Regions from separate parts of the Homo sapiens genome. Here all the other regions are linked to region 7. The links are contacts of gene promoters, found by promoter capture Hi-C in blood cells and fetal thymus (Javierre and others, 2016). All regions are on one chromosome and are shown on one strand. Each heading gives the region's core, a stretch centred on a gene start or on the middle of the fragment in contact. The rest is flanking DNA. Distances are from core to core; before and after follow the strand shown.

Region 1 (3,271 bases), core at 772-3,271, 5.4 Mb before region 7:
GTTGCTGTTTCTTCAAAAGAATATTTCATATTCAAGAATGTTGCTTTATTTTTTTGAGACAGAGTCTCGCTCTATTGCCAAGGCTGGAGTGCAGTGGTGCTCTCTGCAACCTCCGCCTCCCGGGTTCAAGTGGTTCTCCTGCTTCAGCCTCCCGAGTAGCTGGGATTACAGGCATGCACCACCATGCCCGGCTAATTTTTGTATTTTTAGTAGAGACTGGGTTTCACCATGTTGGCCAGGGTGGTCTCGAGCTCCCGGCCTCAAGTGATCTGCCTGCCTCGGCCTCCCAAAGTGCTGGGATTACAGGCGTGAGCCACCATGCCCAGCCTTTGCTTTGGTTTTAAAAGTACTTACAATACTCAAATGCCTATGTTGGCTATTTATTTTTACCCAGCTCACAGGCAGAAAAAAAAAAGTTTATTTAGATCAAATTCTGCAGCAATTCCTTTCCCTACTGCTATTACTGTTAAAGAACTGTGTGCCATCATTAGGCCAAGTTGGTGCAGCACCCAAAATACTTGCCAACTTGTCTTCTCCCAGACTGGAGGGGCTCAGGCAGCTCTTCTAGGATCCATCACATTCTGCATCTCAACTTTACCAATAACACTCCCACCCCTCCTGTACCAGCGATTCACTCAACAAACTAAATTATACACCATTACCAGGTCAGTTCTTAAATAGCTCAGCAGCAACAAGAACAACAAGATGTTGGTCGCATTCTAATTTTACTGGCAGAAACTGAGGGTTTCATTGGTGAAGAAACCTGCCTAGGATCACAGTGTCTTAGTTTCTCAGGGCTACCATAACAAAACACCACAGACAGGGTGGCGTAAACAACAGAAATTTGTTTTCTCATGGTTCTGGAAACTAGAAGTCCAGGAGCAGGCAGGTTTGGTTTCTTCTGAGGCCTGTCTCCTTCACCTGCAGAGGGCCGCCTTCTCACTGTGTCCTCACAAGGCCTTTCCTCTGTGCCTATCATCCCTGGAGTCTCTCCCTGTGGCCCAATTTCCTCTTTCTACAAAGACACCAGTCAAATTGGATTTAGGGCCTATCCTAATGGCCTCGTTTCAATTTAATCATTTTTAAACGCTGTGTCTTCAGATAGTCACATTCTGAGGTACTCAGGCTTCCACAGATGAATTTTGGAGGACACAATTCAGACCATAACACAAGGCAACATATGGTTCAGATGAGATCTGAATGAATGATCAGCCTAACCTCCAAGCAGATTCTTTCAGCAGACTGCAAGGTGCACTGGAGAGCTTTAGACTAGAGGCTTAAGAGGTCATTTAGGCAATATTTACAGAACTGCTAAGTGCCAGGATTGGGGGATGTAGCAGTCACGAAAATCGTTCTTCGTTTCAGTAAGTTTACAGTTTACCATGGGGAAGAGACAAATACTGAACAGGCAGTTATATTACTCTCAGTAAAATAACAACTGGGAACAGTTTCTGGGGATTACTTTACATATGGAGGAAATGCAAAAAACACTTTGTCAGGATTATTCCTGTAGCAAATTAGATGTGACTAGGTCAACCAAACATGGCCACTGTGAACCATCTTATTGAGCATAGAAGTGGTTTTGCTAAAAATGGATTTCTCCACGGAGCACGGTGGCTCATGTCTGTAACTCCAGCACTTTGGGAGACTGAGGCAGGAGGATTGTTTGAGACCAGTTTGGGCAACAAAGCAAGACCCTGTCTCAAAAAAAAAAAAATCAGGGCGTGGTGGTGGGGGCCTGTAATCTCAACTACTCGGGAGGCTGAGGCAAGAGCATCACTTGAGCCTGAGAGGTGGAAGTTGCAGTAAGCTGAGACTGCACTACTGCACTCTAGCCTGGGCGACAGAGTGAGACCCTGTCAAAAAAATAAAAAATAAAAAAATAAAAAAAATCAATTTCCCGTATACTTCTGTTATAAAGAAGTCTTTAAAAAATTGCCTGCTCCCTTAAGTCAGCCTTTTCACTGAGTTTAAATTTCGTTCCAATTTGAACAAATATGGATGCTAATACTATCCTTTATAGTTACTAGTGCTAAGTGCGTTGCATGTAACACCTTGAATACTTACTGAAGTCTGCAAGGTTGGTTTTATGCCCTGATTACTGATGGAGACACAAATTCTGAACAACTGTGACTTCAGGGATGCTAAACACCATAGTGAGGCACGATGCGGGGATTTGAATCTTGGCCTGAGGGTTCCAGAGCTGTGGCCTTTTCTGGGGTTACTCTGTTAATTGATTTCTAGTCCTTTCTGATCTACAAGCCGCGGCATTATAACTTTTAGATGCTGAAGAAAACTAAACTATATGTCAAGGATTAAGGCTTGTGAACCCCCAAAATTTGGGACAGGTCTCAGTTAATTTAGAAAGTTTATTTTGCCAACGTTAAGGACGCGCAGCTGTGACACAGCCCCAGGAAGTCCAGATGACATGTGCCCAAGGTGGTTGGGGCACAGATTGGTTTTATACATTTTAGGGAGACAGGAGACATCAATCAACATATGTAAGTACACTGGTTCCTTCCAGAAAGGTGGGGACAACTCGGAAGCAGGAAGGGCTTCTAGGTCACAGGTAGATGAGAGACAAAAGGCTGCATACGAGTTTCTGATAAGCCTTTCCAAAGGAGACAATCAGAATATGCATCTATCTCAGTGAGCAGAAGGATGACTGACTAGAATGGGAGGCAGGTTTTGCCCTGAGCAGTTCCCAGCTTGACTTTTCCCTTTTGCTTAGTAATTTTGGGACCCTAACATTTTCACAGGCTTTAAATTTTATTATTCTTTAGTTACTACGTGCTAGCATATAAATAAATAGTACAAAACCAAGAAGGCATCCACCTTTTGGTTGTCTCTTCACGTGTAAAACAACACTTTGTGTTAAGTATCTTCACACACGGCGGCGCAAAGGTAGAAACCGATACTAAAAAAGCGTGTAGAAAATAGTTCCCAGCCTGGGCAACACAGGGAGACCTCATTTCTACAAAAATAATTCGCCAAGCATAGTGGTGCGCACCTGCGGTCCCAGCTACTTGAGAGGCTGAGATGGGAAAGTTGCTTGAGCTCGGGCAGCAGGAGTTCCAGGCTGCAGTGAGCTAAGAATGCGCCACTGGACTCCAGTATGGGCGACAGCGTGAGACCCTGTCTCAAACAAAAACAAAAGCCCGTTACTCCACCAAGAAGGCGCTTTTGCACATTGTTTTAATGCTTAACGCCTTCAGGATGCCAGCGTGACGGAAGCAAGTAACCACCAAGGCATCACCACTGGCGCTAAACT
Region 2 (3,202 bases), core at 501-3,000, 7.5 Mb before region 7:
TGACTCCTGCGACAGAATCAACTGGCCCCTCAACAGGGGCTGAATCTGGAACAAAGCAGACGTCCCTTTATCCTACAATTTCTCAAACTTCTCATATCGAGCCTCTGTTTTCAGGAGGTTAAAACAAATTAATCATCAGTGAGAAGGCCAAAAAGACCCCACACAGGGACCCCAGAAAAACAAATGTCATCCAGCTGTGAACCATGAGGGCCCAATGACAGCTGACACGGCAGCCTGGACTGCGGTAAACAGAATGGCGAGACCAAACCTAAATGTTTCCCCTTGGAAAAATTAGCAGCAGCCACCTACAGAAGAATATTCCCCTCCATGCATCCAGGGGCCTGCTGACCTCTGCCCAGCCTTTCTACCTCATCTGTAACATTCAATCACATAGCCAGCCATCCTATGCACGCTGAGAGGTGACAGCGCCTCTGGGAATCAGATTAGAGAACACAATCGTTTGTGACCCTGCATCCCTGGGCCTGGCAGTTTCCTGACTGATCAGACCCTGGGCCCCTCAAGGCAGGGGCGCGAGCCACCACCACCGCCCTCCTCCGTGCAGTGCTGAATACATGCTACTGAAGGCTAAGGTATCGTCCTGCTGTGACGGCCTTCCCATTTTATAATTCAGTAGCGCACGAGGGCCATGGCTGCCTATAGCAAGAATGTGTGTGGTTTGATATTCACAGTTCCACTGTCCCAGAAAGTTTCCAGTTTGCTAGCTTGTAGCCATTTCCCCTATCTAGGTGCACTGGCCGTGATTTTACCCCACTCCATCTGGGGCGCGCCCGGCGCAGACAGGACTGCAGAGAAAAGGGACAGGGAGGGGACCTAGTCAGTCCCTACTATAACTGTTTCTCAAGACATTCTCCCCATGCATTTATTTGCTCTCCCGGGGAAAGAGCGAAGTGTGGGATGACTCATAGTGGCTAGATCGTTCCTCTAACTCCTCCCTTCTTTTGTGTGTGGTTTAAAAAAAAGAAAAACACACACGCAGCCCATAGCCACAACATCAACAAGACCAGAAGCCCCGCAGAGTTCGCAGGAGGTGGGCAGTGGCTGCGCCACCTGCTCGGCTTCCCCAAACTCCGAGCCCACGCCGGGAAGCGGCGGCTCGGTGGCCCCGGGCGCCCGGGCCGGTGGCCCCGCGCTCGCGCCGCTCCGCTCCGCAGCCGAGCGTGGAGTAGCAGGCGCTCGCGGCGCGGCGGGGGAGCCGCCGCGGAACCCAGGGCAGGCGGCCAAGCGGCCCGGCTGTGTCCAGCCATCGCCTGCGCCGCGGCCAGCTGGCGGCCAGGCGCGGGGCCCCGCGGCCAGATGGCCGCTCCGGGGACGCGCCGCAGGCGCCGGGTGCGCCCGGGCCGAGGGAGCGCCGGCGCGGCTGTGCAGGCAGGGGCTGGGGGCGGCGACCTCTGCCCGGGCGGAGAAGCTCAGGGGCCCGAGCGCGGCGGGCGGGGCGCGCAGCCTCCACGCCGCGCCCTTTGTCCCATGTGCGGCTCACACAGGGGCCCGCGTCCCCCGTGACCCCGGCCCGGGCCGCAGCTCAGGTCCCGGAACCAACTCCTCCAGCAGCGCCGCTCTGGCCCGGGCCGCCGTGCGGGGCTCGGGACACGGCGGCAGCGGGGAACCCGCGCCCGCTCCGCGTCCAACTCCGCTCGCCCCGCGGCGCGCTCGGCCCTGCAGGGGCCGCCCCGCGCGTTACCTGCAAGGAGCCTGAGCCCCGGCCGCATCTCCCTCCCGGGTGCGGAAACTCTGGCGGCTCCAGGCACCCGCCCGGACCTGGCAGGGGGAGGGGCCGCCCGCCGCGCACCCGACCCCCCCCGCGCCGCGCCTCCCGCAGCTCCCCACGCGCGCGGGCGCCCCCCAGCACCAGTCTCGGCCCGCCCCCTCCGCCCGACCATTGGCTGCTGCTCCCGTCACTTTCAGGCCACAGCCAAGTCCCTCCTCAGCTCATTGGCGGACGCGCCGGTGACGTCAGGCCAGGGGGCGCTAGTCGGCGGCGAAGGAGGCGCAGGGACAGACGGACCCGGCGGGAGAGGAGGAAGCCGGGTTGTGGGCGCGGAGCTGAGGCGGAGGCGGGGCCGGGGCGGGAAGGGGCGGCCCCAGCTGGGTCGGGCGAGGCTGGCTGCGGGAAACCGAGTGAGCCCTCGCTTTTCCTCCGGGGTCCGCGCGCGGGACCCTATTTCTGGCCTGTCTCGCGCTTCGCCTGCGCGGTGGTCTCCACGCTGGGACTGCGGCGTCCTCGCAGAACAGCCAGAACTCCACTTCTTCCTGTCCGGGAGGAGTTGTTTAAAACATGCGTATCTCCACCTTCTGCTTCTTAGAACAGAACTGACTGAAGCCGTGTTCTTCCCGCCGAGACCATGCCGCCCCATCGACCCTGCTGCGGCCAGAGCCACCCAGGGCGGGCCCACTCACCGCAGGCTCGGGCCACTTGGTTCCAAACCTCCACTCCCATCCAGGGGCCCGGCACACCCACCACACTCCCACTCTCAGAGGTCTTTGCCGCCTGCTTCAGGAGAAAAGAGAAACTTCCACTTTCCACCGGCAAAACTGCACACCTGCTCCCTCCATCACCGAGCCCCCCCCCCCACCTTCTGTTTTTCCAGTATCGCAGAATCCGATCCGTTGCTCCCTCTGGACTGGAATCCGTATCCTCGGCATTTCATCATTCCAAGATTCTCTACTCCACGTACCCTTGCTGCCACCCTCTTCTACTTTCCATCGCTGAAGTTGGTGAAAGAGGCGCCTGCCCCCAGTTTTGTGGTCTCTCAACTCCACGTGTTCGTTTTCACACTCGGTGAAATTGCCTTTTTAATTGTCGCAAGTAGCATCCACATCACTAAAGTCAAAGGACACTCTCCTTTCTCGTGTTAACTGATCTGAGCAAAATTCCTTCTTTCTCCTTAAAACACGTCTTCCTGTGGCGGGGGTGCTCCACTTTCCTGTCTGTCCCCAGTCTTGGCGTGCTTGTCTACTCTGGGTGACCACCAAATAACAGAGTTTTCAAGGTCTCAGACCTTTCCTCTTACTCCACAATTTTTCCCTGAATGATTTAACCTGCTGTCAACATTTAAATCAATATATCCCAAATTTGCAACTCTAATCTTTGCTCCTCTGAGCTCCAAATCCGTTTATCTAGCTTCCTATTCAGCTACTCCTGGTAACAAGCACCTCAAATGGAACCCATCCAAAACTGAATGCG
Region 3 (3,050 bases), core at 229-2,728, 5.8 Mb before region 7:
TTTGTGATCGCTAAGGTCAACCTCTTATCTCTGATGGTCTCTGAATTTAGAGTACAATTTAAATATATAGTTAACATAGTCCGGGAGAGATACAGGGAAGGGGTGAGGGAAGTTTACTTACAATCAGGACTGGGTGTGAACGTTATGGGAACCTAGAATATTAGAGCTGGGGCTGATCTGGGATTACTCTAATCAATATCCTTCTTGTAGTAGCCGAGGGGACTGAAGCCCAGAAAACTTCAGGACCCGCCCAGGGTCTCCCAGTAGCTAGTGTGTAAGCTGAGACCAGAACTTGGCTCGTTCTCTCCCAGTCCTGAGCTTGGGCAGAATCACCAGCAACGCCAGCTCCCTTCCCTTTCCTTCAGATGGGTCTCGGGTCCAGAGCTGGCGCCCGCTAGCGGGAGGCCAGACCGGGAGGGCCAAGGCAGCCACCTGTGGCTTTCCCATCCCTCAGGTCCAGCAGTGCACATGGGGTGCCCCCGCGTCAACGCCGGAGGAGTGACCTTGCAAACCCGCGCCCCGCGGGCGGCAGAGCCGGCCGCTCACTGCCCGGTCCCCGGCCACCACGGAAGAGCGAAGATCTCTGCCAGGGCAGGAGCCCTAGCCCCGACCCGCGCCCCAAGTCTCTCCCGCGCGGCGGCTTCCGGCCGCCATGGTTTCCATAGCAACAACAGCACAAGCTGCCGGGTCCCAGAGACGCCCTAGGGTCAGAGGTCATCTCCGTGGCAACGGAAACTTCCCGCGCTACGGCGGCTCCAACGGGCCGCTTCCGCCGCATTGCGTAGCGAAGCCCCCGGCGAGCCGAGGCTGGGAGCGCGGTGATGGCCGGTCCCCGTGAGCAGAGGGCAGCGGCGGCGGGACCGGGGACTCTGGGCCAATGGGTAAAGCCAGGAGGAAGCCCGTGCCTGGCCCGTTGGGCTCCCTCCTCCTCAGAGCCGAAGCAGTCCACACTCGGAACCCAGCTTCACCCGGATTACCGAGGGGTTCCACGCCTGGAGGCAGAGCTGCAGCGTGGGCCCGCTCGCGGCTTTGCAGAAAACAAATAATGACACACTTCTCTGGAAGCCCGGGGCCTGGGCCCAGAGCCGTGGCTTCTGCCAAACTTTCTGGTCCCGGACACCAACTCCCCGCCTCTCAGCCCGAGGCCACAGCGGCCCAGCACCCTGCACCTTTTAAAGTGGCTCCAAAAAGGAGAAAGCCAAATAGATCAGGGTGGTAGGCGCGAGTGCAGGGAGCTGCGAAGTTGGAAGATTACTGCTTTTCAAACTGCCAAAGAGCAAAATACTAAGCGAGAAACTCCGTCCAAAGCAACTGGAACTCGAGGTTCTTTACTAATGAGAGTTCCAGTTACCATCTTCAGAGAAAGGAGCTCAAAAGAGGGAGTTTATTTTTTGCGGAATGTCTTCCTTGTTAAGAAGAAAATTAAAGATTAAAAAAGAAAATGAAGGGTCTGGCAACTATGAACCTAATGGTGCCCTAACGTTTGCTATTCTAAGGCCGAGAATGCCAGATGGGGAGAACGCCATGAGCTTTTGAGCTTGTGTATTTTGCGAGAGGCTCGAGTGTGAACAGTAGACTACAGGCCTTGAGACTGAGAAGGAAGCTATAAAATGTGGGCCAAGGGAATGTCTGCAGGACCGGGTTTCAGAGCACCCTATCGTGGCGGATAAAGAGCCACTAACAGCTTTTTTCTTTATTTAGTAGCCAAATTCTTGGTTGGCGCTTTGAGAAAGGAGTAAGCATTAAGCGAATTTAACCAAGTAAAATGTATCGTCCTGCCCTTTGTAGTCCCATAGTTCACTATCCTAGAGATACCTATTTTTCACTATTTTATTAAAGTGTATTGAAAACCTACCATGTGTCGTGAACAGAGTTTTTGTCAAGAGACAGTGACAAAGGCAGTGGTGCCCAGCAGTTGTTGGGTGACTTTCTTACATGATGTTACCAGACTAATCAAACAAGAACTTCACTGTTCCCTATAAAACATGTCTGCGACATTCATCCTTTTTGCCTTCAAGTTTAGGAAGTCCCTAAGAATCCCTCCTTTTGTTCCCTTCTCTTCATCATCCTACCTTTTACATTCTGACCAAAGTAAAAAAAATAGTGGCAGCTAGAGAACTACACAGGGAAAACATCAGGACATAGTTGGTCTTGATACAAAAGAGCTATTGCATCTCTAGAGGTATACGGGGAGCTGAGAAGTCTCCCTCAGAAAACTCCATGCCCTTCAGTACCCGGGTTCAACACATAACTAAACCTTGTACCTGGTACACAAGTCCTAAGGAACACCACACAGACTATGGCAGTGAGCAGGCAGATGTGTAAATAGGTGTTTCCCTGTCCCTATTTACAGGAGGTAAATAGTATTACCTCCACAGTCCCTCCTGGAGGTAATACTGAGTTGGGCTCAAAGGTTTTATTAAAAATAGGCACAGTGCAATGACTTGTTTAACACTGAAGAGAAGAGCTCCTGTTAGACTGTTCAAACAGCCCAACTGTTTCCCCTTAAGGCAAAAGACACTATTTTGAATAAATGCTTCCATTTTGAGACATCTACGTGGTATTTATAGAAGGCGTATGAGTCAATTTGAGTGAGGTATGATGCCAAAATGTGCAAAGGAGTGAAAACATTGGTTGTTGTCCTTGTTACCATATGTATAAAAACACTTCACAAAAGTCTCCAATGTTTGTGTTGCTAAAACATGGAAGACTGGGTTCGAACATTTTAAAGGAATGGTTCATTGTAGGAAACGTGAAGTATAGTATAGAATTAGCTTTAGCACTTTCAGAAAGTACTGCATCATTTGAACAAATTTTCTCAGTTATGGATGCTGTCTAAGATGAGAACAAGTTGTACAGCCAAAGTCATCTTCATTGTTAAAACTAAGTTTAGATTATCATGCATTGAATTTTACACTTATTAACTGGGATATACATTTCAAAAAAGAAAAATCTACTCTCCCAACAAGGCAGTACTCCGAAGCCTACCTAAAATGCCATCCTTTGGTTCATGGAGTGGCACTGCTCTACAAAACCCATTTTGTTACCTC
Region 4 (3,038 bases), core at 359-2,858, 8.7 Mb before region 7:
GCCTGCGACCGTTCTCACTGAGCATGTGCAGACGGCGGTGCGCATGCTCTGTTGCGGTCCGCTTCGGTTTCTGTTGCGGGACCCGGGGTGTCTCCTAGCGCAACCGGAACTAGCCTTCTGGGGGCCGGCTTCCTTTATCTCTGGCGGCCTTGTAGTCGTCTCCGAGACTCCCCACCCCTCCTTCCCTCTTGACCCCCTAGGTTTGATTGCCCTTTCCCCGAAACAACTATCATGAGCGCGAGGCTGCCGGTGTTGTCTCCACCTCGGTGGCCGCGGCTGTTGCTGCTGTCGCTGCTCCTGCTGGGGGCGGTTCCTGGCCCGCGCCGGAGCGGCGCTTTCTACCTGCCCGGCCTGGCGCCCGTCAACTTCTGCGACGAAGAAAAAAAGAGCGACGAGTGCAAGGTGGGTGAGGCCTGACGAGCCCTCTGATGCACTGTTGGAAGGGGAAGTCGTCCCTATCCGGGGGAGCTGATCCTCGGGTGGGAGCGAGGGAAGGGGGCGTAGCAGCGGGTGGGGTTGAGTTTCCCCAGAAGCTTTTGGGGTCTGCTGGGCTGTGGGTGGGGGGCTCTGAAACAGCCCTTGCAAGGGTAGTTTCTGGAGGACGCAGTGGGCCTCAGACTCGCCTCCCGTCTTGCGGGCCAAGTGGCACGAGCAGCTGTATTCAGTTTTCCTGGAACAGGGACCGTGTGGAGCGCCCTTGGAGTTGGGCTTCACGCCTCAGAGCTTTGGAGTTGGATGTATGCAGGTCCACGCGTGAGTGTTCGCTCACAGCCCTGTAACATGTACGCTGAGGAAGCGGGTGACCGACTCCCTACATGTGAGCAACACTCAGCCTAGTTAACAGTTTCCATTAGCTTTTAACTTCATTGCTTCCTGTTTAATTGCATTTTCCTGGAACCTTCTAGTTGGTTAGGAGAGCTTGTTCTTTCTAGGACTTTGATATCTCGCTTCACAATTAGAAGTTGGTTCCTTATTTGTGGAGTATAACACCCAGAGCCACACAAAGTGCATTAATAAAGAGTTGCTGTAATGGTTGAGGCACTTGATTTCTGAGTTTTAAGTGTAAAAGATTTTAATACACAAAAAAAGATACGAGGTCTCACTATTTTCTCTGAGATGGTTTTAAACACTTAAAAGGGGCAAATGGTGGGAGAAACTGGTGTTTTCCTAGGGCAAGTCTTGAAAACTTTGATCTCTTACAACATTCACACTCAAGGTTTTCAGTTTAATTGCTAGTAAAAGAGGCGTAAATAAAGTAACCTGCTTTTAGGTTATATGGTGTAGGGCTTTACAGTATACATACACAATTATTTCGTTAAGTTTATTTAAAACTTAACATTTGGGGGATGAGGATCTCTTTGAAACCTTTAATGATTTCAACAATTCAAATAATCGTTCAACAAACGTTTACAATCTATAAATAGGCTTATTTATTAAGTTTGATTTTTTTAAGCTGGTGTTTATTACAGTTAGCTTTACTATAGCTGTGAATTTTGAGGTTATTTTAGGGCATTAGATAAGCTTTAAATTTTTCATAACATTTTGCAGTTTCTTTTTAGGTTGTCAGCTATCTTGAATGACATGTTTATACATCTGTGCAAAACCTTGTATCTGAAAAAATATCTAAGGATATTTAAGGTTTACTCAAGTCTGCAGTTAGTGTTTCAGTACTTAAGTTCATACTCTGCAGTGCAAGAAGCTTTCACTCCTTTTTGAGGATTCTGACTGAAAGACTGTTGTTGTGCTTCCAAGTGGAAGATCTAGACTTGCAAGTACACTGGTTTTTCCATTAAATATTTTAGTAACCAACCTTTAAGGCCTAGTGTTTGGTCTTACTTTAACAGCAGTTGTATATTCTATTCCTAGTGCCTCAAAGATGAAAAATATATTTCCTGCCCTCTGGGAACCTCAAAGTAAGGGACATAAGCTTATGAACAGATTATTGAAATCTGATCTGTTACACAGGATGATGTCCAAAGTGTGCTAAAACAAAATGAGGAAACATCAGTGGACTAGAGTCTTTAGGGAAAGCTCTATAGAAGAAGTGACAGGGCCAGGTGTGGTGGCTCACGCCTGTAATCCCAACACATTGGGAGGCCGAGGCGGGTGGATCACCTGAAGTCAGGAGTTTAAGACCAGCCTGGCCAATATGGTGAAACCGCGTCTCTACTAAAAATACAAAAATTAGCTGGGCGTGGTGGCGGGCATCTGTAATCCCAGCTACTCGGGAGGCTGAGGCAGGAAGAATCGCTTGAACTCTGGAGGTGGAGGTTGCAGTGAGCTGAGATCGCGCCATTGCACTCCAGCCTGGGCAACAGAGCGAGACTTTGTCTCAAAAAAAAAAAAAAAAAAAAAAAGAAGAAGAAGTGACATTTGAGATGGACTTAGAAAATGAATAAGTGAAACTTATAGGTGGTCTTCCAGTTAGATGATTGTTTTCTCAACAGGTCCTTTGGTAAGTGGCTAGGTTGTATTCTAGTTATTTTTTAGTTAATCTTGGGAGTCATTTTGGATGTTTAATTTTCATAGGTATAGGGATAAAACAGGCAGAGCAGATCATTTTTCCGAAATGTTTGGATTTTTATCTTTATTGCCAGCTACACTCACATCTGGTTAATGGAAACAACTCTTAGAAGAGCAGGAGGGTGTACTTTCAGCTTTTTTCCTGCGATATGACTAACTGGTGTAGAGAATTTGAAATACACTTTAATATTTATTTTCTTTGCCTTTCAAAGAAGATGCTATAAATAACAGTAAACAGTTGAAATTTGTATTACTTCAATCAGGATGTTAATAATTTATTCTCATCTATTTCGTATTTGTTAAGGAGGACAGTCTTGTACACATTATTCAGAAAAGTGGAAGGAACTTCTTTTAAAAATTAGAAATGAGAGTTGTGAAATGGAAATAATTTTTTCCAAAAGATGCTGTTAAGTTAGTGAATCTGAAGTTGGAGAAATTGGGCAGGTCATTGATACTGTTACCAACAGTTTTTCCATCTGTAAAATAGGGATAATCATATTTGATTATGACATATT
Region 5 (3,149 bases), core at 31-2,530, 5.5 Mb before region 7:
CCCCTGGGTGGGGAGCATTAGTCTAGGTGAGTGTTTATGAGGCAGGAGAACAGGGTCTGGAGGCAGAGAACCTAAGACCAATTCACCCTGACTTCCTACAACTAAGTTGATAGGAAAACCCCAACTTTCCATGCCTAAGTAACAAAAAGACCAGAGGCTACTCCCTTTGCAAACCCACACCTTATCTGTGCAGCAGATAGAAAATTGAAAGTTGGTTGCAAAATTGGTTGCTTTCTGCAAACAGACATTTGCATGGGAGTGTAACTTTGTAACTTCACTTCAGCCTCTGACTGGTTGCTTTCTGCAACCAATCAGACTGACTGTGGGCCACCACTTCATTTACATGGGGTGAACACCCAGGTAGACAATGGGAAACCTCTAGAGGGTGTTTGGGCCCCAGAAGATTCCTTTTCCAGGGTCCTTGAGCCGCTGCTTGGGCCCACTCCCACACTGTGGAGTGTACTATCATTTTCAACAAATCTATGCTTTCTTTGCTTCACTCTTTCCTTGCTTTGCTGTGCATTTTGTCCAATTCTTTATCCAAAACGTCAAGAACCTGGACAACTTGCAGTCAAGACCCCCTCAATAACAGCTATGCCATTAATTAGGGCCTACCAGAAGAGGTGCCAGAATGGCTCTTTGATTATAATCTCAAACTTGAAGGGGCTGAACATTTTCCTGCAAGGCGTGGTAAATCTATGGAGGAGAGCAGATGTGACCTTTTCCTAAATGTTCGTTTCTGCTGTGGATACATCATTCATCTTTCTCTAGGAGTTCTATGTTCCCCAAATATGGCTAGCTATACAGTCCTCAAATGTCAAGCCATTACATCAATAAGGAACAGTAGTTTCTTATAGAAAACTCAGGGGAAAATCAACTTTAAATGATCATCTACCTACATTACCCCTATATTTGATGTAGTATCTTTGGTCATCATATTATGCCTATAGTTTAATTTTGCAAACGCAAATATTGTAAATTGTATAGCCTGGTCAGTAGCCTTTTAAATGTTTTGTTGTACTCTAACATTATGTAATAAGTTGTCTTTTGTGTTTTCCTTGTCCTGTTAGCTTTACTTCTGGTTCACAATACTTATGTTCTTCAATGACTTATAGTGGTTAATAGACCAGTGATTCTATCTTCTTGATAGCTTTGGATATTTTTTATGTTTATCATCTTTTGATATTAGTAGTGTTTTAAAATTTCAAATGTTAATTATTGTTTACTTATACAACATTCTTAAAAATTTAGGTTCAGGAAATGACTTTTAGTCAAGAATATCTATTATAAATAGTCACAGGAATTTTAAATTTATAGTTATGCATCACTTTACAATGTGAAAGATTTGGACATTATTACCTACGTTTTCATTCTCTTTGTCATATTTAGAAAACTAATATTTTGAATCTACTGATTCCATCAGGGCAGAGGAATAAAGGGCCTCAAAAATCTGCAAGCTGCCCAGGCCACTTGAGGCTATTTTAATGGCCTAACATTAAGAGTAGTAGGGAGGATATGCAAAAGATTAAAGAAACATTTCTTACTACAAACTTCTATTTAAATTTAACATCAGCCTCATCACCTTTTGTGAATTTTACAGGAAATACAGAAACTATGTTCTTTATATATAACTCAATACCATTCAAGCTCGAGATCAGGTGATAGCTGAACTTTCCAAGGCAAAATTAAGTGCCCCAACTGCATAGATATAGCAAAGATGTTAGTACTACAATTTAGCAATTATTTCTCTCTTTAATCAGAGTAGTCTATTGATTTTACACACTATGTTGTGTTTTTGAGACACAGTCTCACTCTGTTGCCCAGGCTGGAGTCTAGTGGTGTGCTCTGGGCTCACTACAGCCCCCACTTCCTGGGTTCAAGCAATTCTTCCACCTCATCCTTCGAGTAGATGGGACTATAGATGTGTGCCACCATACTTGGCTAATTTTCGTATTTTTAGTAGAGACAGGGTTTTGCCATGTTGGCCAGGATGGTCTCGTAGAGACAGGGTTTTGCCATGTTGGCCAGGATGGTCTCAAACTCCTGGCCTCAAGTGATCCTGGCCTCAAGTGATCCGCCTGCCTCAGCCTCCCAAAATGCTTGGATTACTGATGTGAGCCACCGTGCCCAGCCTCACACACTATGTTGTAAGCTCCAAGTTTTTATTCATCTTTGCAAACCCAATGAGGTTTGCCTGTAATAAGCCTTCAGTGAACACTTCTTGAATTAAAGATCTTTATTTCATTCTAAAAAATCTTCAGGGTCCCCATATTTGAAACATATGTCCACTCCTATCCTTTCATTGTGATTTATTAAAAGATAAGGTGAAGAGATGTGTGCATTCTATAAATCTCTGACTAGATTAACCATAATGTTTTCCTTTTCTGAAGATAACGCTGCTCTGCAAAATTTCTCAGTTGCCTATCAATAAGACAAAAGCACCTTTTTGTAACAAAATTCAGATGTTTAATTTTTTTCAAAACTTAACTATACTAATGAAAATAAATTATATGTAGACCACCTTCAATATTTTTACATCATCTTTATACAACTGTAACAGTGCTTTCAAAAGACATTTTGTGAAGGACATTAATTTCACATTTAAAACGTGTTTCAAAAATAAGGGAACATTAAAGAACATCAAATTAGTCTGAAATATATCTCACAATGCTGAGAGGCATACTCTTCTTTATCAAATTAACTGTATGTGTACTCAAGATAACATGGCTTTTAACTAATGACATTTCTTGTCCATTTCAGTAATTTCTTGGATCCAAAACAAAATCTGTGTATTTATTTCTTTGAAAACATCATTTGTCGACCGTCCTTTCACTGCCATGGAATGATTTGCCTTCTCAATCCAGTGGATTTTATGGGGAGCTTGCATTTTCTGTGCCACTTTCTCCAACAAGTTCTAAAGAGAAAAAGAAGAGGATACTAGACTAATGTTCTGTTGATATTTAATAAAAGGTCCTCTCTCCCCTGCCTATACTGGCATTCATTCCCAAGTATTCATTAAATGCTTTCTCAGACAACTTTCTAGGTAATAGAATGTGTGAGGAAATGTCCGTAAAAGTGGCAGTCCACTTCTCTCAGCTGTAGCAGTATCAGATCAAGCATTTATTACTAATAAAATGTAAAATAAATTG
Region 6 (3,207 bases), core at 669-3,168, 5.6 Mb before region 7:
GCAAAGCTGTCTCAAATGTTAGGCTTAAGTCTCTGAATTTATGTCTTTTACGCGAACTCTTCACCACCCTGTTAGCTCTCTGATCCTTCAGGAAGGTATCTTTCAAGCAGATATTTTTCATACATTGTCCAGTTCTCACTTTCACCAGAAGGCCTGGTCCAAACTGCTTAGTTTACCATTTTATTACTGGAGGCTCAAGTACCTGGAACTTGATGTTGTGTAGTTTACTTTGGTTTGGAGGTATGTTAGCAAAGTGGATATTTGTCACGATTTCCTGGCATCATTGGAAAGCTTTCCTATGTTTATGGAATTTCCCACATTTTCAGTCCTGCTCTCCAGGTAAGAAATCAGAACTACTTGATCAGGCTTCCATACAGCCAGGCACGGCCTTGTAACTTAAACTTTGCTGATCAGGTCGCCCTGGCTTTTGGACTCAGTTATCTTTGGTAGAAACGGTAACGACGGCTTTTGCCTTTGGGGGGCAGCAGTGGCGAACCTTCATGCATCCGAACCTGTTTCTTTGGTGTGAGCTATTTTAGTTTCGGGTCCTCGGGGTGGGGGCGGACGTGTTGTGAGGAGCAGGGATACGTGTTAGTGCCTGCGCGAGGTCAGGTAGTCAAGGGTCCACAAAAAGCTGAGAGAGGCATCAGGCCGCGATGCAAGTCTGACGCCGAGTAAATAGGAGAGGCAGAGAGGCTGGGTGGAAGCGCCCTGGACCACCACGCAGTCCAACTTGGCAAAGCCGGCCGGGGAGTCCTGGAGCCTGAGACAGCAGTCCGCGAAATTGCCCGCCTCCCGAAACAGATCTGCTCCAGCATCCCTTCGCTTCCATCACGGGCTGGGAGCCGCCCACGGGAGGTGCGGCCTCGCTGCAAGGCAGAGGAAGATTTCAAAGCCCAGCGGCTGGCACATGTAGGATGCTTATGCAATCTCTAGAGTCTTGGAAAATTAAATTTTAAAATATTCTCTAAACGATAGGCTGCAGCAATAGTTGCAAGGAAGGCGATTCATAGAAAGCTATTGCCTTCCACAGCACCTGTGCCTTGGATTGCAGCCTCAAATGGGGCAGGTGACAGGAAAAACATCTGACTCAGCACTTCCTGCTTTGAACAATGCTGGGTGAGAGAAGTTGCTGTGCGTCCAGCCTATTATTAATACTTTACCCTCCATAAGATGACCAACGCCTAGGCCTACTGACCTTGTTTTTGCCTCTCCTCCTCCTCCTCATTTTTTTTTGTTTTATTATTATATATTATTACAGATTATCCATGTTTCTCTACTTATACTCTCTACTTGTTTCCAATATCCAATGAACTGTCACACAAACTGTCTTAGCATTAAAAATTCCCCCCAGTGATAATGTCATTAAATCAAAGGAGGAAAAAATGTAAGCACTTATAATATGTACAACATTTGGCTTGAAGACAAACAGTAAATGACTGTATTGAGTTAAAGTGATTTCAGGGGTTATATAAAATAGTGGGTTTCAAACTGGTACATGGATAGTTTCGATGAAATCAATTTCCAGATGCCTGAAGTCAACCACTTTTTTCTAAGCTTATCTGCCTGGCAGCGTGCCTGTGGCGGAAAGACATGATTCTCTTTTGCACCTATTTCAGTGCTGGGTCTCCCACCTTTTAGGGAAAAGGAACACATCCCGAATCTTACTATTATGCACCACCTGCAGGTGTAATAGCCTCTGGGGCATCAAATAACGGGACAATTTGAAATACTATCACTAAAACTTTATTTAATATCAAAGTTCAATAACCAATCCTATCCATCTTTTTTTAAAATCAAGAACAATTTTTGTTAAGACCACAATTAGCAAAAAAAAGTTACAGCATTTTTGAAACATTCCACAATCTATTATGAGGAACAAGGGCTAGGGAACAAACACCAAAGCATAACAGCATATGCTCTGCTGTGTGTTATGTTAAACCACTTTTCATTTGTCTCATTAAATCCATCTTTTCTACAATTTAAGCAAAGGTTATAGAGCAAAAGATGACATTTGTCATATGAGTGATTCTTAAAATGGGAGCTTCAACGTACGTCTGAATTTTGTTCACATTACTTTCTGGGCATATTATGTAATACTTATATATCCTGGTTTCGCTTCTTAAGAATTGATGATTCAATTTTACAAGAGACACAGACATACAAATCTTATCCTTTTAACTAGTCCTGTCATTAACAGAAGCATGACTTATTTATACCAAGCATCTTTTTAAGAGCTCTATTTTCAATAAAAATTTTTTTGTCCTGTAATTTTTAATCAAAGCTTAAGACTTACTCATGTTGTTGTAATCAACTTTGTAATAACTGAAAGATAACCCAAAAGAATAAGTTTAACATTTTTCTTCCAGGAAAATTTTTAAAATTAATATATTTTTATTGCAGATGATGATACATTATCAATATGCCTTTCCATTATAAATGCAAATTACAATGAGAAAAAATTCCATATAGAATGGAAATAAAGTTTCCAGAAGAAATAGTGATATAAAATGTCTGCTTTTAAGTGTTCAGATATTTTATAAATAGTTGATGGTAGCTATCAGAGTTACACTCAACTGGGTATATTTACATGAGAAACGTGAAAGTTTCATTAAATAATGACGATATTTATACTATGCCAGAAATTACATCCTTTATAATTTTTAAAATTTATGATAGGCCGGGCGCAGTGATTCACGCTTGTAATGCCAGCACTTTGGGGGGCCGAGGCGGGTGGATCACCTGAGGTCGGGAGTTCGAGACCAGTCTGACATCAACATGGAGAAACCCCGTATCTATTTAAAAAAATACAAACATTAGCTGGGTGTGGTGGCACATGCCTGTAATCCCAGCTACTTGGGAGGCTGAGGCAGGAGAATCACTTGAACCCCGGGAGGTGGAGGTTGCAGTGAGCCGAGATCCCGCCATTGCACTCCAGCCTGGGCAAGAAGAGCAAAACTCCATCTCAAAAAAAAAAAAAAAAATTGTGACAAATTTAGACTTCATTTTACAGCTGTACAAAGGGATACATAACTTTTTTAAAAACATGTTTATGGGATATGTAAGCAAAAAAAGAAAAATCTGGCCGGGTGCAGTGGCTGATGCCTGTAATCTGAGCACCTTGGGAGGCCGAGGTGGGTGGATCCCCTAAGGTCAGGAGTTCAAGACCAGCCTGGCCAACATGGCGAAACCCCGTCTCTACTAAAA
Region 7 (2,816 bases), core at 232-2,731:
ATTCAGTTCTGACTAAATTGTCCTGAAGTGACACATGAAAATAAACCGGCAGGTTTTATTCAGTGACTATGGAAGGTGATTAAGTGCTATGCTATTGCACTTAAAAAAGAGAGAGGAAAAAAAGGAGTAAGTGACGAATGCAACTGAAGTATCCTTCATGCAACCCTTGACAAGCTGTGTTTCCCTAGGAAACAAAGGGTTTACAGCTGCCTATCTTCCACAGCACTTAGTGACAATTTGGGACAATCTCAGCAAAAAGAAATGAGCAGACAAAGACGCTAGAAGGGCTTTGGGATCCCAAAAGTTAATGAAAGACCAAGTGTAAGAAGAGAAATAAAGTAATTCCCTCCAAGCCTAAAGTCTCTCCCGCTCCAATGCCCCCTGTACCCTCTCGGAAAATGGAAAATCCCTAAGGAGTCTACATCATTCCTCTGCCCGTTCCCCCTACTCTCCCCCAACCCTTCACGGATTCCCAGTGAATACCTGGCCTCGGGCAAGCTCCGTTACCTCTGTGAACCAGAGAATCCCAGCTGTAAAATGAGATCTTGATGGTTTCCTGCGGGGTTGCCATGAGAAAGAATCAACATGTACGCAGGTAAAGCAGGCAATACAGTTCCAGGGAGTCAAAAACGGGAGAAATCGTCCCACGACCTGGGGCTTGGGTCTAGATGAAGAGCACAGCATCAGGAGGCCAGGCTTCTAATGCGGCGCAGTCTACAGCGCTGTGGACTCGGCAACTCCCATCACCTGCCGCTGCACAAACACCCTGCTTGCTGCCCCCATAGACCGACCCCCGCCTGACGCCTCCCAGACCCCCCCACCTGACGCCCCTCAGGCCCCCCGCCTGACGTCCCAGACACCCCCACGACCGGATCCCCCAGACCCCCAATCTGACGCCCCACTTCCCCTACTTGACTCCCCACACATCCCCCGCCTGACGACCCCCCGACCCCCGCCTGACGTCCCAGACACCACCCATCTGATCCCCCAGACCCCCAATCTGACGCCCCACACCCCCCACTTGACTCTCCACACACCCCACACCTGCCACCCCACGTAAACCCCGCCTGACACCTCACAGACCCTAACCTGACGCCCCACAGACCTCCCCCGCCTCCTGCCGCCACACACACCCCAAACCCCGCCCCGAACACCCCCCACCTGCCGCCCCACAGATTCCCCCCTCTGACGCCCCACAGACCCCCAACGTGACGCCCTACAGACCCCAACCTGACGTCCCACAGATACCCCGCCTGACGCCCCACAGACCTTCCCCCGGTCTGTTGCCCCACAGACTTCTCGCCGCCTGCTGGACCACACCTTCCACTTGACTCCCCCCACACCGTCAATCTGCCACCCCCCACCCCCCCCACCCCAACCCCCCCCAACCTCCCAACCGCCCCCACCTGCCACCCCACACCCTTCCCACCTGACGTCAAGCCTGAAGCTCAGCCGCTAAGCCGGAAGCTGGCGCCAGAAGATGCCGGTTCCGCCAGCTGCTCGCCGCGCAGGCGCAGGGGAGACCCGGGGCCTTGCAGTCACCGGGCTCAAGCACGCCGGCGCAGCCAGGCTCGCGATGGGAGGTGGGGGGGCCGGCAGCCCCGTGGGGCTGCGGAGGCGGGACCTGCAGGATCCTGGTTAGGGTCTTGAGTACACACGGCTCCTATTGGCCTCGGCAGCAGATGCTCTCTGCAAGCAGTTGATCCACACGCCAGTGGATTTTGTCTCGAGGGAGACCTAAGATCACTTTGTGCTCTGGCTAGTGATAGCCTCTAATTCTTGTTCTCTGTACGTAAAACAGTGGTAACTATACTGATTTCGCTGGTTGTGAAAACTCCCAAGAGAGAACAGGACATCCTCCCAACTCAAAACGTTGGTTGTTTCATTTAAACTTTTAAAAAATAGGCTTTTGCAAACTATATAGAGCTGTTTTTTTTTTTAAATGATGTTTGCTACTGTGGTCTCAGTTCTCTTAATACAGAAATAATACATAACAATACATAACTTACAATATAGAAATAAACCGTTGCATGACCAGAAATCAACTATGGACTCTTCTAGTATCTGTTTAAGGTTTAAAAATAAAGTTATTTAACAAACCTTTATTGAGCACCTATTATTATATAGTAATGGTGCTAGATATTCAGGGTGGAGAGATTATAAACAACCCCAGTTTTTGTGTTCCAGGAGCTGTTGGTTTCCACCGAATTTTTGCTGTGGTCAGTCCTCTTTCGCCATGGAGAAGTGAGAAGTTATTCATAAAGAGGGGTGGAAACAACTTTTAGAACTATTTTATTTTAGCATAAAATATTGCTTTACAATAAAATAAATTTTGCTGCAGTGGGCCCTGATAAAACATATTAGAGCTGTTAAGTGCCCTTAGAGGTTGTGTAATGTATAAAAACCTCCTTTTTCAAAACTGACACATTTCATTCAGTGCTAGTTTGTAGCGGAGGTTCCGTCTAGCCCAAGAACATTCAGTTATTTACTTCGTATGTCTAATTGACCTAATATGCCTGAATATCTAAAATCATCTGTGATGTTGTAAAGTCTCATGATATTGTTTTGTGAGTATCTGCTCTTCAATTTAGTTATCAATTTATTTTGGAGGAAAAATGAATAGTGTTAAGGTAGAGGAGCCTCCACTTGCCCATCTTAGGAGAGGGTACCTATCCGTGTACATTTGTAGCTTGTTCAACCTCTACTGAGCTCCTACAATGTCAGAAGCTGGACTTTGTATTAGTTACATGAGAAGAACCATGAATTATGAAACCAGGCAAACTCCAAATTGATTCAAAGCCCAGTCTCCATTTCAT

What was found. Contacts are between HindIII fragments. The CHiCAGO score rates a contact against its expected background, and 5 or more counts as called.
Region 1: a fragment that was not itself captured here is called in contact with the fragment with the promoter of LIG4 in region 7 in 1 of 17 cell types (fetal thymus); the score reaches 11.9 in fetal thymus.
Region 2: a contact is called between the fragment with the promoter of TMTC4 here and the fragment with the promoter of LIG4 in region 7, in 1 of 17 cell types (fetal thymus). The highest score is 7.2, in fetal thymus.
Region 3: a contact is called between a fragment that was not itself captured here and the fragment with the promoter of LIG4 in region 7, in 1 of 17 cell types (fetal thymus). The highest score is 7.6, in fetal thymus.
Region 4: a contact is called between a fragment that was not itself captured here and the fragment with the promoter of LIG4 in region 7, in 1 of 17 cell types (fetal thymus). The highest score is 5.6, in fetal thymus.
Region 5: a fragment that was not itself captured here is called in contact with the fragment with the promoter of LIG4 in region 7 in 1 of 17 cell types (fetal thymus); the score reaches 6.1 in fetal thymus.
Region 6: a contact is called between a fragment that was not itself captured here and the fragment with the promoter of LIG4 in region 7, in 4 of 17 cell types (fetal thymus, total CD8 T cells, total B cells and 1 more). The highest score is 12.9, in fetal thymus.

Annotation. Positions count from the first base shown.
Region 1 is chr13:102,842,471-102,845,741 of GRCh38, forward strand. All of the region lies in intron 9 of BIVM-ERCC5 (BIVM-ERCC5 readthrough), which reads left to right. Among named protein-coding and RNA genes, the nearest start is that of ERCC5, 1.9 kb to the right of the region's middle. RefSeq lists enhancers at 2,492-3,271, 2,901-2,950, 3,161-3,271. The HindIII fragment of the contact is 8,959 bases long and covers 1-3,271 here.
Region 2 is chr13:100,673,045-100,676,246 of GRCh38, forward strand. TMTC4 (transmembrane O-mannosyltransferase targeting cadherins 4) reads right to left here and starts at 1,751. Exons shown (of 19, transcript NM_032813.5): 1 at 1,700-1,751. RefSeq lists enhancers at 127-1,016, 2,342-2,421 and silencers at 1,132-1,211, 1,262-1,621, 1,652-2,151. The HindIII fragment of the contact is 7,703 bases long and covers 1-3,202 here.
Region 3 is chr13:102,393,851-102,396,900 of GRCh38, forward strand. It overlaps FGF14-IT1 (FGF14 intronic transcript 1), which reads right to left and starts at 669. Exons shown (of 4, transcript NR_036486.1): 1 at 504-669. FGF14-AS2 (FGF14 antisense RNA 2) reads left to right here and starts at 728. Exons shown (of 1, transcript NR_036487.1): 1 at 728-1,855. It also overlaps a transcript of FGF14 not described here. RefSeq lists an enhancer at 575-804. The HindIII fragment of the contact is 3,160 bases long and covers 1-3,050 here.
Region 4 is chr13:99,501,376-99,504,413 of GRCh38, forward strand. It overlaps TM9SF2 (transmembrane 9 superfamily member 2), which reads left to right and starts at 97. Exons shown (of 17, transcript NM_004800.3): 1 at 97-402. The coding sequence starts at 232. RefSeq lists an enhancer at 1-477. The HindIII fragment of the contact is 178 bases long and covers 1,520-1,697 here.
Region 5 is chr13:102,763,667-102,766,815 of GRCh38, forward strand. TEX30 (testis expressed 30) reads right to left here. Exons shown (of 6, transcript NM_138779.5): 6 at 2,222-2,914. The coding sequence ends at 2,735. All of the region lies in intron 2 of LOC105370337 (a long non-coding RNA gene), which reads left to right. Among named protein-coding and RNA genes, the nearest start is that of LRTM3, 6.2 kb to the left of the region's middle. The HindIII fragment of the contact is 7,460 bases long and covers 1-3,149 here.
Region 6 is chr13:102,591,607-102,594,813 of GRCh38, forward strand. It overlaps LOC107984588 (a long non-coding RNA gene), which reads right to left. Exons shown (of 2, transcript XR_001749984.3): 2 at 1,731-2,795. Among named protein-coding and RNA genes, the nearest start is that of TPP2, 3.8 kb to the right of the region's middle. RefSeq lists enhancers at 293-842, 383-602, 633-962, 843-1,390 and a silencer at 432-607. The HindIII fragment of the contact is 727 bases long and covers 1,556-2,282 here.
Region 7 is chr13:108,214,055-108,216,870 of GRCh38, forward strand. LIG4 (DNA ligase 4) reads right to left here and starts at 1,482. Exons shown (of 3, transcript NM_206937.2): 1 at 1,430-1,482; 2 at 484-556. RefSeq lists an enhancer at 1,407-1,701 and a silencer at 1,545-1,684. The HindIII fragment of the contact is 5,824 bases long and covers 1-2,816 here.